5 separate regions of the Homo sapiens genome follow, and all the other regions are linked to region 1. Evidence: promoter capture Hi-C in 16 types of primary human blood cells and fetal thymus (Javierre and others, 2016). All regions are on one chromosome and are shown on one strand. Each heading gives the region's core, a stretch centred on a gene start or on the middle of the fragment in contact. The rest is flanking DNA. Distances are from core to core; before and after follow the strand shown.

The links. The method cuts DNA at HindIII sites, captures the fragments that hold promoters and counts their contacts. A CHiCAGO score of 5 or more calls a contact.
Region 2: a fragment that was not itself captured here is called in contact with the fragment with the promoter of HHLA2 in region 1 in 1 of 17 cell types (total B cells); the score reaches 5.0 in total B cells.
Region 3: a fragment that was not itself captured here is called in contact with the fragment with the promoter of HHLA2 in region 1 in 1 of 17 cell types (erythroblasts); the score reaches 5.3 in erythroblasts.
Region 4: a contact is called between a fragment that was not itself captured here and the fragment with the promoter of HHLA2 in region 1, in 1 of 17 cell types (neutrophils). The highest score is 5.6, in neutrophils.
Region 5: a contact is called between a fragment that was not itself captured here and the fragment with the promoter of HHLA2 in region 1, in 1 of 17 cell types (neutrophils). The highest score is 5.8, in neutrophils.

Annotation. Positions count from the first base shown.
Region 1 is chr3:108,295,201-108,297,861 of GRCh38, reverse strand. HHLA2 (HHLA2 member of B7 family) reads right to left here and starts at 1,314. Exons shown (of 10, transcript NM_001282556.2): 1 at 1,263-1,314. The HindIII fragment of the contact is 2,475 bases long and covers 1-1,769 here.
Region 2 is chr3:107,897,195-107,899,855 of GRCh38, reverse strand. The region is part of intron 1 of LINC00636 (long intergenic non-protein coding RNA 636); the gene reads right to left. Among named protein-coding and RNA genes, the nearest start is that of LINC00636, 15 kb to the right of the region's middle. The HindIII fragment of the contact is 491 bases long and covers 1,055-1,545 here.
Region 3 is chr3:107,918,604-107,921,264 of GRCh38, reverse strand. The region is part of intron 1 of LINC00636 (long intergenic non-protein coding RNA 636); the gene reads right to left. Among named protein-coding and RNA genes, the nearest start is that of LINC00636, 37 kb to the right of the region's middle. The HindIII fragment of the contact is 197 bases long and covers 1,258-1,454 here.
Region 4 is chr3:107,960,261-107,962,921 of GRCh38, reverse strand. No RefSeq gene overlaps it. Among named protein-coding and RNA genes, the nearest start is that of LINC00636, 78 kb to the right of the region's middle. The HindIII fragment of the contact is 6,015 bases long and covers 1-2,661 here.
Region 5 is chr3:107,987,218-107,989,878 of GRCh38, reverse strand. No RefSeq gene overlaps it. Among named protein-coding and RNA genes, the nearest start is that of CD47, 100 kb to the left of the region's middle. The HindIII fragment of the contact is 1,134 bases long and covers 735-1,868 here.

The sequences.
Region 1 (2,661 bases), core at 65-2,564:
AGAAGCCACCCAGAATCACTGGTTAATGATCAAAATATTAAGCTATGGTCTATTTTAAGCACCTGGAGGAAAACTCAACACAGGAATTGGTTTCTTTCCCAGCTCAGGCCAACTGATAGAACATGCTGGTGGGCCACACGCCAAAAGTAGGCAGAGCCTTCATTCATGGATTTATTTAAGAGCCACCAAACTTTCAGGCTACTCAATATGATTATATAGGAAATCATTTGTCTTTTACATCTATATTCTGAAATAATAATATTTATTAAACACTTTCTACATACCAGGCACTTTGCTAAGCACTTTAATAAATTTCATTTAATCTTCACAGCAATACTAGTCTACCCCCATTTTACAGATTAGGAAACTGGCTCTGAGAAAAATATACAACTGGTTAATGATGAAGCAGGTAAATGCACCAAGGATTACTTGACTCTAGAGACTATGATCTTGACCACTACACTTTATTGCATCTTTTGATTAAAATATGCTTATAATGGGATATGACACCAATTTGCCATTCTGGACAGAAATTATTTCCTCCAAGTTTCTAGGAAATGGGAAGCTCAAGTTTGTTTTGTCAGGTACCAGTAACACAAAAAAACCTAAATTACCTGTTCATATTTTTTTCTATTATCCAAAGTCCCAAACAATAGAAACCCAATGAGAATTGAATCTTAACTTTTTGAATCTTGTTTTAGTTATTAAAAAATGACATAAACTTAATGATTCTTCCCTGAGACAGTGGAAATATCTAGGAGACTTCTAAGTTTCTTGTATTAGAATTCAAAGATCACGATTCTTCTGCTAGATAACCACTACTACGGTCCTTTTGTTTCCACCACAGAATGGAACGCAGTGCATCTTGGAGCAGCTAATAAAACTCTGTAGTGTAACTAGATGAACAATTACAAGTAAGAATACACTCTTAGAGATTTTTTTAAAGTTCGCAGATAATTTTCAAAACAAACATTGCTCATCCCTCTTTCACTGTCTTACCAGAATGTTAGGTATTTTCCTCATTTTTGCTAAGTTCTTTTATTTGAAATATATCAGCATGTTCCTTCAAGACAACCTTTTACTAAGTATTTGTTTGGTGCATATGCACAATACATAGTATATGCACTAAATCAATTTAAAAGATCAGTCACTAATTTTTTCCTAACGGGAAAATAAAGTGTCAACTAAAAACCACCCATATTTGATTTATTCATGCCCACTTTTAAGTTCTAGGTATAAACAACTTAGAAAGAAATCCTTACCTTACTTAGAAATTCATACCGTCTAGTCAAATGCTAAGTAGTCCATAAGAATAAACATTGAATTCAGCTATGAGTTTCTCAGAGAGTAAAGTCCAAGGTACGTTTGATTTGCTACCTATGACAGACCAAGGAAATCACATCATCACCAAGGACTCCCTCCTTCAAACTAAGCCCCACCCAGATCTGAGTCAGTACAGATCTGAAAAGTCCAGGAATTAGAAGATGCAGTTTCAGACAACATATTGAAACAGCTAAGCATTGAGCTGTGGGAGCAGTGGACTCTGGTTTCCATGCTATGGTGTCAGCTTCACCATCAACATGATACAGGCAACCTCCTGAGGTTGGACTGCCTGTGACCTGTCTAGCTTGCTGCAGAGTTGTAAAGAAAATTGTGTAGCTGGTTGCAGTGGGTGCCAATAGTTCTGTGAGAAAGAACCATAACCCTACACAAAGTTCATCTGCACCTACAATTCCCATTACAGTTCTGGTCGCTAGAACACCCAAGCTTAAACTCAACTTCAGAGAAATAAAGACCTCTCTGAATTCCACATGGAAAGTTGGGCAGTGCCCAGCCTCTATGCTGTCATATCATTTAATCTCTCTCTCCCTCAGTGTCACATGCATGGCATGCATGCACATACAACAGATGCTAAGAGTCATGCTTTACTCACTATTGTATCCCAAACAACTACCACTTACTTACTAGCACATAGTAGCTGGTCAATATCTGTTTGCTGAGTGCATGGGAGCAAAAGTTACAAAGTGAACAAAAATTACCTTAGGAGGACAATAAACAGGACCCTTCTGTCTGGAACAAAGGATGCCATCCAAGCCTTGGCACAGCACACAAATCCCCTGATCATATAATCATAGGGCCCTGTCTAGCTTTATAGCCTTTCGGCATTACTCACCACATCAACGTTAACCTCCTGCCACACATGCACACTCAGGGGAGAGGGCAAAGTACATTTGGGGAACTCCCCCTCCTCTTCCCCATCTCTTCCTTGACTTCCTTCTTCTCTAGTCAGAGTCATCCATAGTGAGCCTTCTGCTGCCCACTGGAAACTGGGTTGAAAGCGCCAGGGCTCTTCCTAGAATCCCCAAAGTCACCCACGCCAACGTTTTCTTTTTTGTTTGTTTTTGTTTTTCGTTTTTTTTTTTTTTTTTTTTTTTGAGACAGAGTCTCTTTCTGTCGCCCAGGCTGGAGTGCAGTGGCACGATCTCGGCTAACTGCAAGCTCTGTCTCCCAGGTTCACGCCATTCTCCTGCCTCAGCCTCCCGAGTAGCTGGGACTTTCAACCCAGTTTCCAGTGGGCAGCAGAAGGCTCACTATGGATGACTCTGACTAGAGAAGAAGGAAGTCAAGGAAGAGATGGGGAAGAGGAGGGGGAGTTCCCCA
Region 2 (2,661 bases), core at 51-2,550, 400 kb after region 1:
TAATAGTGAGATGTACCAGAAGTTGGTAGGAGAAAGCTAACAGTGAAATTGTGGTGATGGAGCAGAGAAAATTTTCAGCAAGGGAGATGGAAGGCAGATGGGAGTACTGTGAAATTAAAGAAGGAGGCAGGGTAGTTATTCATAGCTATTCTTCTGTTATAACTCTGAAATATGTGTGCTTAAAGAATAAATAGAAAGTAATTGATTTGAAATAGAAAAGCATTAAAGCTTAGAAATATGGAAACATGAGAAATGACCCTGAATTAAACGTGTTTGAAATGGTTTTTAGGGCTTTCTTTGGTCCATGTAAGTCACCTTAACAAAATATTTAAATAAATCATTTTGAAAAAATAGTCACTGGACTTTTTGAAAGAAAAAAGCCCTACTGACTCAAGGCAAACTGTATGGCTAAAAATTATGAAAACTGTTGTAGGACTCCAAAAGGCAGCCCTTGCCTCAAGGTGGGTGCTGGTTTTTGTTCCCCAGAGGGGGGTCATGTTATCAAACACCACTTGTCCCAAGTCCGGTTTTCTAGACGAGACCCTGCAAGGGGTGAAGTGACCAAAGGCGATTCTCTATAGAGGAGGACAGCTAGGCATGGTTACTAGCCAGCATTGCAGCCGCTGGGAGACAGGTGCACCAGCTGGTAAGGCAGAGCTGGCAGGGCACTGAGAGCCCCCACTACATCACCTAATCATCTTCAACCTGGTGATGCATCCCACCACGATGAAATTGTGTGCTTTCATCACAGTCAAAATTAAAAGACCATGAGGCAGCTTAGTGCAGAGAAAAGAATCCCTTTGATGGAGGTAGCTGACCTGGGAAAAGGTTTCTCTTCCACCACAACTATGAGATTTGGGGCAAGTCACTCGGCCCCTCTAAGCTTGTTTCCTCATTCATAAGGTCAGAAAAATTAAAAAGACTATTTTGAGAGTCAGACTAGGAAATTAATATAACATACATAGACAATATATTGATGCATGATATGCAAGTGTACCATATATTTACTTGTTTATATTAATAAGAAAAGATCTGGAAAACTATATGCTAAGCTTAACTGTAAGTTATCCCTGAGGGAGGGGCACTGTGGATGGTCGTAGAGAGAAGTACAACAGTGTGGTGAGCAGCGCTGACTTTGGAGCCAGGCTGTTTTTTGGACTCTGGGCAAGTTGTTTAACCTCTCTGTGCCTCAGTTTCCTTTTCTGTAAAATAGGGATAGGTAAAAACCTACCTCATAAGGTTGCTTTGACAATTAAATGAGCTTATATGTAAAAATCATTTACAATTTTGCCAGGCATGCTGTAAGAGGAATATAATTGTTAGATATTCATGTTCTTTTATTTTGCTTATTCTTGCCCCTAATTGTCTATAGTGATTGTACATTGATTTTACAAGAAAAACGTATAAAACATAGAAAAAAGTTCTTTTTAACATGTGAACTATTAATAGCTGGTAGACATTTTAATTAACCTTTATTTTAAATGGGAATAAAATAATTAAAACTGTCCAAGCAATACATCAAATAGAGAATAATGGTCATAAGCTTTCTACTGCTCCACTCAGGAGCATTAAGTTTCTTAGCCTTGAGGTTGATGTGTTTGCATGAGTTTTTGCTGCTATTATTTTTATCTCTCCTTTTGCACAGCAGTGGGAATCCGAAGTCCTGCCTTGCATTCTGTTTTTTCACAGCCAACTCTGTGTAAATGCAACATCAGTATTTCAACTTTTAGCAGTGGGGGTCATCTTGTATAGTTGTCTAAACTGTGCAGCGTTTTTTTTTTTATTTTAAGAGTATAAAACAGTAACAGCTGCTGTCCCACTCATAATAGACAAATGAATACAAAATGGCTGAATCATCAGCAGCTCCTGGCAGACCCTAAGACCTGTGGACAATAAACCTCTCCTGAGACCAGACACTTCGGTTACAGCCTTGTGCTGTCATGGCCACATGTGAACTCAGCACGTTCTCCACATACCAGGTGTCTCTTGCCTAAGGTGTGGGTTCAGGACAGGCAACTGCTGTTTTATCAAGAATATTCAGCTGGCTGAGCAAGGCCAATATTGAAAAAATTTATTATTTGAATTGTTCAATTCCCTGGGAACTTTCCTTTTATTGCACAGGAGGAATGAGGAAGTGACAGCACCACACATACACACACACACACTCACACTCTCACACTCACAATGCTTTAGGTCAAATTATCATCAAGGAGCCAGTAGGATTTCTAAGAGAAAATGGGCTGCTGCAATCATGTTTTCAATCTAGCCACTACACTTGGCAGGTAATTGCAAGCCAGGGGCAAGCCACAAATACCATTAAATACAGACATTATCGTTCCTGACACCCACAAGCGCCATCATAATAATGAACTACCAGTATACTCAGATTTCCTGATCACATGGACTATACATTTCACAAGAACTTTTAAAAGTCCAGACGAATGGAGGAACTCTCCAGGCTGTAAGATTTCTTTGGAGACTAGATGAATTCAGCGGGATAAAGTTAATTGAGGTAAAACAAAAATGGTGATGGATTTATTCTAAATTTAGAGAGCAGAAAGGTTTTTCTTTTTCAGTTCAGCTCTTTCCTTCCAAGATTTCTTTCTGTTTTTTTTCCAGTGAGTCTATTAGGAAGGCTCTCTAGACCTAATTGGCAAACGG
Region 3 (2,661 bases), core at 107-2,606, 380 kb after region 1:
CACTTCTCTCCTACTCTGAGAGCACATGGAAATGTGTGGGAGTGAGGTGACCTTAGGCAAGGATAATCTCACATCCACTCCAATTTACATGAAAAATGCTCCATTTGCAAACTTCAGAACTTAATTACTTATAACAAATTACTTGTGGAAAACTCTACAACTGACTGGGGCAGTATGTGACAGTGCTGTACTTGGGAATTAGAACTGTAATATAGTCCCATTTTCACGACAGAGTGTGGGACAGGGTCTATAGAATTTTGCCACAGGGGGCCCCAAGACCATCCAACCACAGGATTTCATATTCAGAGCAGAAGTGTCTTTGTCCGTGGTGAGTCGGTGTTTAGTCTGTATAACAGAAAGACCTTAATTCTTTAAGACCTGATGCAAATTAAAGAATCACCATGTACAGAAATACTGAAACAATCCAGATAAGAATGATTCATATTAATATTGAAAAGCTACATTGATCAAGGCACTTACCCTTTTGGTTACTCAGTTTCCTCTTCTTTAAAATGACTAGGATAATAGTACTTACATCATAGGACTGTTAATACCTGTAAAGTACTGTGAATGCTACTTGCCATACAGTAAGTTCTCCTTAAAGGTTAACTCCATTATTATTACTCTCATTACACCAACACGGCCATTTTTGTGGCTAAACTGAGGATAAAAAACACTGCTAGTGTTGCTAATTTTAAGTTCTACACTCACCCTAAGTATAACATAATAATGAAAGAAAGATGGATATATGAGCATCCTTCAGCCAGTTCAATTTATTGTTGAGTCAGAATGAGATACAGATAAATAGAAAATTAGCCTTTAAAATTATTTCTAGTGGAATTGTAAATCAACACAAACCTTCTACAGGGTGTTAAGAGCCTTAAAATACAAATACCCCATGCACCAGCAATTCCTTAACTGTGAATTTATCTAATGGGCACAATCAGAGATGTGTGAAAAGATACATGTGTAAGATTCTACATCAAACTTATTTATAATACTGAAAAATTGGAACAGCCTTAGTGTTTAACAATAAGCTACCATTTAAATAAAACACATACATTCATGTGGTAGATGCTGCACAGACATTAAAAACCATGTTGTAGAAGACTATATATTGACATGGACAAATGTTCACGATATATAACCCAGTGAAAATAGCAGGTTGCAAAAGAGTGTATCATAACAATCCTATTTGAATGTAAGTGTAACAGTTGGACTGAAGTAGATCCATGCAAATTTTTTTTTAATGAAGCTTGCTATATTCTCAAAACTTCTTTGAACCTTAAAATCTACCCAGAGCATATGTCTTATTTTTTGTCCTATTTTTGTTTAAATCTTAGTCTAGTCCACTGATTTTTGTAATCTATTCTTGTTAAAGTCTTAGGCTTTCTCTGTTGACAATTCTGTCAAAATTCAATATCATTAGCTGTCCTTACTCATAGGTACAAGCTTTTTCTCCCTGAACTAATACTGTCTATCCCAGCTTCACCGACTCCAACCCCAGCGGGGAGGAGAAAGAACTCCTCTTCTTGTGGCTGGGAGCAGCAGCCTCAGTAGTAGGAGGTGCCTGTGTCCTGATCTGGTGGCACTTTGTTCCGTGGCATCTGCTATCTTGCTGTAGCTGTATGCATGGTTTCCTGAGGCCATGTTCAGCTTCATGCCAGCTCCCTCATGGGATGCTTTTGCCCTAGAGGGGCAGCTGCGTGTCCCTTCGGCCCCCACTCAGGTTGCTGTACACCTGTGATCTCTCTACAAAGCTCTGTGCTTCCAGCAGACATCGGGGTCCTCTTCTGTGCCTGAAAGTCACAGAGAACAGGGGAAGGCATGTCCACTTCCTCCTTCCTCCTTCCTCTTCCAGGCACACTAAAGGATCTCTTCAAGCCCCACTGGCATACATTATGCCATCAAGCCTTCTACCTTCTGAAATTGCATGGAGCAGGAACCTTCACTGTCAAAGAGATGCATGTCAAACAGCTCCCTTACTTTCTGGGGTGGTGGTGGGAGGAGTGGGATGGCATGGGATGGTGGAAGGACCATGGAGCAGAGAAGGACAATTTGTCATCCCTGAGGGATCCCAGAGAGCCACCCTCAGAATCCCTTCAAATACTCCCTCTATTTTTTTAAACAAATCAACTATATTAAATTGTATTACATAAGATGAAATGCACCATTATAAATGTACAGTTTGATGAGCATTAACAAATGCATACGCTTATGTAAGCACCACAATCAAGATATGGAACATTTTTATCCGTCCACAAAGTCCCCTCTTACCCTTGTCAAGTCAATACTGGCTCTCCTATCCTATGCACCACTGATCTTCTTTCTGTCCCTTGAAATATAGTGCACACTTGCTAGCATTGCATGTAAGTAGCATAACACAGCATGTACATTCTTGCATGTGGCTAAGCATGATGTTGCTGAGATTTTATCATGATGTTGCTGTAGTTTGTTACATTTCATTGTCAAGTTGGGTCCCATTATATGGATATGTGACAGTTTGTTTATCCATTCACTGATTGATGGATATTTGGGTTGTTTTTCTGAGGGGGGGCTATAAACATCTATGTACAAGTCTTTATTTATGTGGATTTGTGCTTTAATTTCTATTGGGTAAATACCTAAGATTAGAGTGACTGGGTCATATGACAGTGTATA
Region 4 (2,661 bases), core at 41-2,540, 330 kb after region 1:
ATCATGGCAAGTTTTAATTTTTAATGATTCTTCCTGTCCTTCTCCAAAAGGATCTACAATCATCTACTTAGGTAACAATGTACTGGGGAAAGGGGAACACTTAAGCCTTTCAAGAACTGAGTGTTAACATTAACACCTGGGGGCCCAAAGCATCATCAGGTACACACTCATACACACACACACACACATACACACACACAAACACACCTATTTTAAAGGGTGCAAATGAGGACTCTGGATAAAAATTGGCTCATAGTAGATCAACTACGTGTATGGGCCCAACCAGTGGTCATTTCCCTAGTTTCTGAATACCTAATTAGAAGAAGCAATTGACAGAACCCCTCTATTGGTTTTCTGGCCTATAAGGTAAGAATTATAATGGGAAAGCCCAAAGAAGCCTCTGATACTACTCCATCAACTCTGGACAACACATTAAATCAAAAACAATATTGCATCCTGGAGGAAATGACAGAGATTAGAGTCCATCTTGAAGATCAAAAGGATGCAGGGTTAGAAGCCACACCCTATCCCTATTTAATTGACCAGTCTTACATCTATAAAAGCCATGTGGCTTCTTGGTATGAATTTTTGGGCAACCGACAATTCTACCAAGTAGCAGCCCCAATTGTAGCTGCTGTACAAATTGTGGTGTCTTTGCTAGAGCAAGTTAACACGGTGTCTAATACATGCTGTGAAACTGATAAGAAATACACATATTGGTTTCTGCCAGCAGTCCTTGGCACAGAGCTCCTCAAGCCTTCATAATTTCCTGATGAATAGGGGTGCTACAAGCATCTTGTATTTTAATATTTGGTCTTTGACTCTGGATCCTGACCCAGCGCTCCTAAGTCCTTTGGCATTTTCTGGGCGACAGGAGCTTCTTTTGCTCTAATAAGGTGACTCTTGGTGGGCTTTTGCATAGCCTCAAGATAAGAGCCAGTTATCAGGGAACCAACTATGGGATTAGAAGGTTGGAAGTTTCAGCCCCAGCCCCTGACCTCCAGGGAAAGGAGAGTGGCTGAAAGTTGAGTTCATCACTAATGGTCAATGATATAATCAATTATGCCTGTGTAATGAAGCCTCTATAAAAACCCAAAAGGACAGGGTTTGAGTGGGCATACAGATAGCAGAACACATGGAGATCCCTGGAGGATGGTGTGCCCAGAGATGGCATGGAAGCTCCTCCTCTCCCATTCCTTGCCCTGTGTATATCTTCCATCCGCCTGTTTCTTTGTAATATCCTTTATAGTAAACCAGATAGCATAAGTAAGTATTTCCCTGAGTTTTGTGAGCTACCCTAACAAATTAGTTGAACTCAAGGAGGTGGTCACAGGAGCCCTGATTTACAGACAGTAGGTCAGAAGCAGAGGTCAGACAACCTTGAGCTTGTGATTACCATCTGAAGTGTGGGGCAGTCTTGTGGGACTGAGCCCTCATCCTGTGGGATCTGTTGTTGATTGTTGAGTGGGAGAATAGAAAAAGCCCTTTGGTTTGGTTTTCTCCTATACACCACACATGGCATGCAGCCATTGATCTGCACTGAAATGAACAGCAATATATACTTATGATCTTGCCCCAGGACTATGTTAACTCTTTCCCTCTCTCCTAGTATAGTGACCAGACCAGTAGCTCCTGAGAACCATACATTTCTCCACTTTAAGCAGGAAGTCACAAGCATTTTGGAGGACTTGGTGAGACATATGAATTGCAGAATGTGGAAAATACATCTAATGAAGATTGAGGGCCCTGAAATATCAAGGAAATTTCTTGATGGGGTCTAGTGGTTTGGGCATGCCATGACAACCCTCTCAAGGCAAAGAACAAAGTATTGTATATTACCCCTCCCACCACTAAGGAGGAAGCATAATGCCTGGTGGGCCTTTTTAGGTTCTGGATGTAGCATATTACATACTTGGTAACAGTGCTCAGACCAAGTGTTCATTGCTATGTTCAAAACATAGCTTAAAACAATAATCATTTTATTGGTAGTTTCTGTGGGAATCCAGGAATTCAGGAAGGTGTCATTCAAGTGAATCTGGTTTGAGTCTCTTGTGTACTTGCAGTCAAACACTTGTTGGACTTAAAATAGTGGGAGACGAAAGAAGACAGCCAGAGAGAGGAAAGGAAGACTGGAGCCGCTGAGAACTGGCCAGAGTCCCCTCCCGCTTTCCCCCTTCCTTTCTCTCTCCCTCCCCACTGTAGTCTCAGGATCTCTCCAGATAGTCTCTCCACATGGACTAGGTTGGGCTTCCTCATGACATAGTAGCTGGGTTTCAAAAACAAACATTCCCAGAAGGCAGGGTTGAAGTTGCTTGGTCTTTTCTAACCTAGCCTCAAAAATCATGCAGCATTACCTCTACCATTCTCCATTGGTTGGAGATGTCACAGACCCCATTCAGACCCCTGGGAGGGGGACATAGGCACCACCTTCTGATGAATGGAGGTTCAAAGGATTTGGGGGCCATTTTTGGAAACTGCTATAGTATGATACACTGGAATCAGCACCAATTCTAGAAAAATCTTGGCATGTGTCTTGGCTCTACCATTTTCTGCTTGTGTGGTTATGACCTATAATCTCTCTTTGCTTTAGTTTTCTCAATAGCAATATGGAGGATGACAATGCTTTTTAATAAAACTCCTTTGAATGCAAGGAATAGAGAC
Region 5 (2,661 bases), core at 52-2,551, 310 kb after region 1:
GCAGAAGTACAGTGAGGCTTCCCAGACCAAATCATCTCCATTTGTTTCTTATTATTAAAAGGGAAGCACTTTCTGCCATCACTGGTTCTTTCGCCCTCCCCTATCCTTTGCACAATTTACATACACATACACAGACAACATGCACACACACTTAAAATTCAATGTTTTCCTTTCCCTGTAGACTTTTAGTAAATTAAAAAAAAAAACAAAACCATAAACTTCAGATATCTTATAATTACAAATCTTCCATTCAGCAGTTTGCAAAACAGATGCATTTTGTTAATTTTCATCCCATCTGGATGACATGTAGAAGTTGCTGGACATTTGAAAATGGATGTTGACATCGTCAAACATCCCCCAAGACTTAGGATTGTGAGCCTAAGGAAAGACTCAGCAAAGGAAAGAAAGAAAATGTGTTCATTCTAACAGGTCTTTGTTTAAGTGCACACTACTTTTGATCATAATCTGTGGACAATGTTTACGGAAAAATCATATGCTAATCAAATGGTTTAGTCCTGGGAAACTTTAAAGCCCTATAGACAAGCAAAGAGCCTGCCCAAGTACAACTGAACTCTCTCTCTGCCACCCAGCCCCAATTCAATCACAATGCTAGTGTGACCTCCAATTGCTGATATTCCAAATTCTGAATATTATATTTAGAGATCTCTAGTGGAGATCACAGATTTCAAAAGAGTGAAACAAAATGTGGAGACCATAAGGAACATTGTAAAGCTTAATACTGTTACCAAAGTTCAGCTTCGTATTAGGTGAAAATATCATATAGGGCTCGGTTCTTCTCTGTCTGTGAGGCAAACAGGGCTGCCCCAAGATGCAGGGGAAAGCAGAGCTTTCTTGCAGCTTCTCCTTCTCTGAGTTGAGCCTGGAAGAGGAAATTTTAAGTGTAACTAAGGGGGAATGGGCCAGCCCTGCTTACACATGGCAGTGGTAAACAGAGTAAGCTCTGCACTTTACATAAATGCTCAAATCCTGCACTTTTATATAAAATGTATTGACTGACCAGCATATATTGGACACTTAACTATTTAGAATTTTTTAAAAAAGAAAAACCAAAAAAAGATGCTTCTGGCAGGGCTGCCTTTATGCAAAGTATTAAAAGTGACTCATCTGGATTATGGCTTTTTCTAACCCCACCCTTCCGTGTTTGCCTTTCCTTTTGCTGAGCAAAACTTTATGCCAGGCAGGGCTCACTGCTAGTGAGGGGAATTTGGGCACGGTTCCAGGCCCCACTTGTTCCCTTGTCTTGAGCATCCTTGCAGTGATCCTTACAGTGATTTGGACTTGCCAGAGTTGCATCGGGATTGGCAGGAGAGTGCCCAGGGCTGCAGCGATGCATGTGGAGCACTGTGAGTGGAACTGGAGTTGGTCTGGCAGGCCTGGTTCAAAGTGCAGAGGTGAGAGGCAGCATCAAAATCATGTAGGAATCCCCTAAGCATTGACATACGTTGTCCCACCCAGCATCTCTGCAGGTAGAGCCCAGGCAAGCATAGAGCTGCAGGGGATGTGTTAATATTGTCAGTCCTGGAGTGTGAGGACATGGCTAGGAAGGTTTAGGGATTGGGCATTGCAGATCCTGCAGCCTCAGCTGCTAGAAGAGGCCCCAGAAGGTGGTCACCATTGTCTGGAGTCTTCTTCTGCCTTTAAGGTCAGAGCAGCTGGGGGAACTTTCCCAATCCTAGTCTCACCAGGCTTCTTCACCACCTAGGTTGAGCAGATAAGAATCCAGGCTCCTGGTGACCTTCATTCATTCAACATATAATTACCAAGGGCTTTGCATGTGCCAGGCACTGTGTTAGGCACTGGGGAGACAGTGCTGAGCAAGAAAGATGTCATGTCTGCTTCATGAAGCTTAACCCTAGCAGAGGGACCCTAAAAAGATATATAAGTAGTCATTACTTTTACCTGAATAACTAGACGAAGTGCAACACCATCATCCTCCAAGGTCTTGGCCAGGCACAAATCTCTTGACACCTTTTCTAAAGGAATTCAGACTTAGTTTGTAGATGGAAATGTATGTGTAGAGTCAAAGGGAGTTGAAAGACCATCTGGTACCCCTGCCTCTAGCTCACAGATGAGTACATTGACATACAGAGCCATGAGGAAACTTGCCATGGTCACATGGCTTATTGGGCCCACAAATAGATTTGAGAATGTATTCCCAACCACATACAAGATGCAAATGTGTATCCTAACATACTCTAATTATAAAACATGCATAATTATATTAGTGAATAGCAGGAAGTATAGGGGTAGAAAGTCCCAAATCACAGTAACCGTATTTTTGATTTTGGAATGCATTTCTGCATAACATATGAACCTGAATACGCCTGAAGTCCTGGGAATTCCCTTCAAACAAAGTGATGAAACTGCACAATAATGACCTGACTCAAGAGTTGCCGGGAAGCTGTCCAATATTTCCACGCTGGCTCTTGCTCAATTCTTCTGTGAAGTCTGTGCCTTCCGGTGAAAGTAGATTTCTAGGTCTTAGAGAATGATAGAAGGCCTCTCCTCTGCCCCACCTCTTTCATGCCTTTCATGTAGGCAAAGTAGACAGGGAGGGTGTTTTCTCCCAATCAAGCTATAATCAAACTGACTTAGAAGAAGCTATTAATGGTGAGTATCTGGATTGTTGCCAAAACAAGT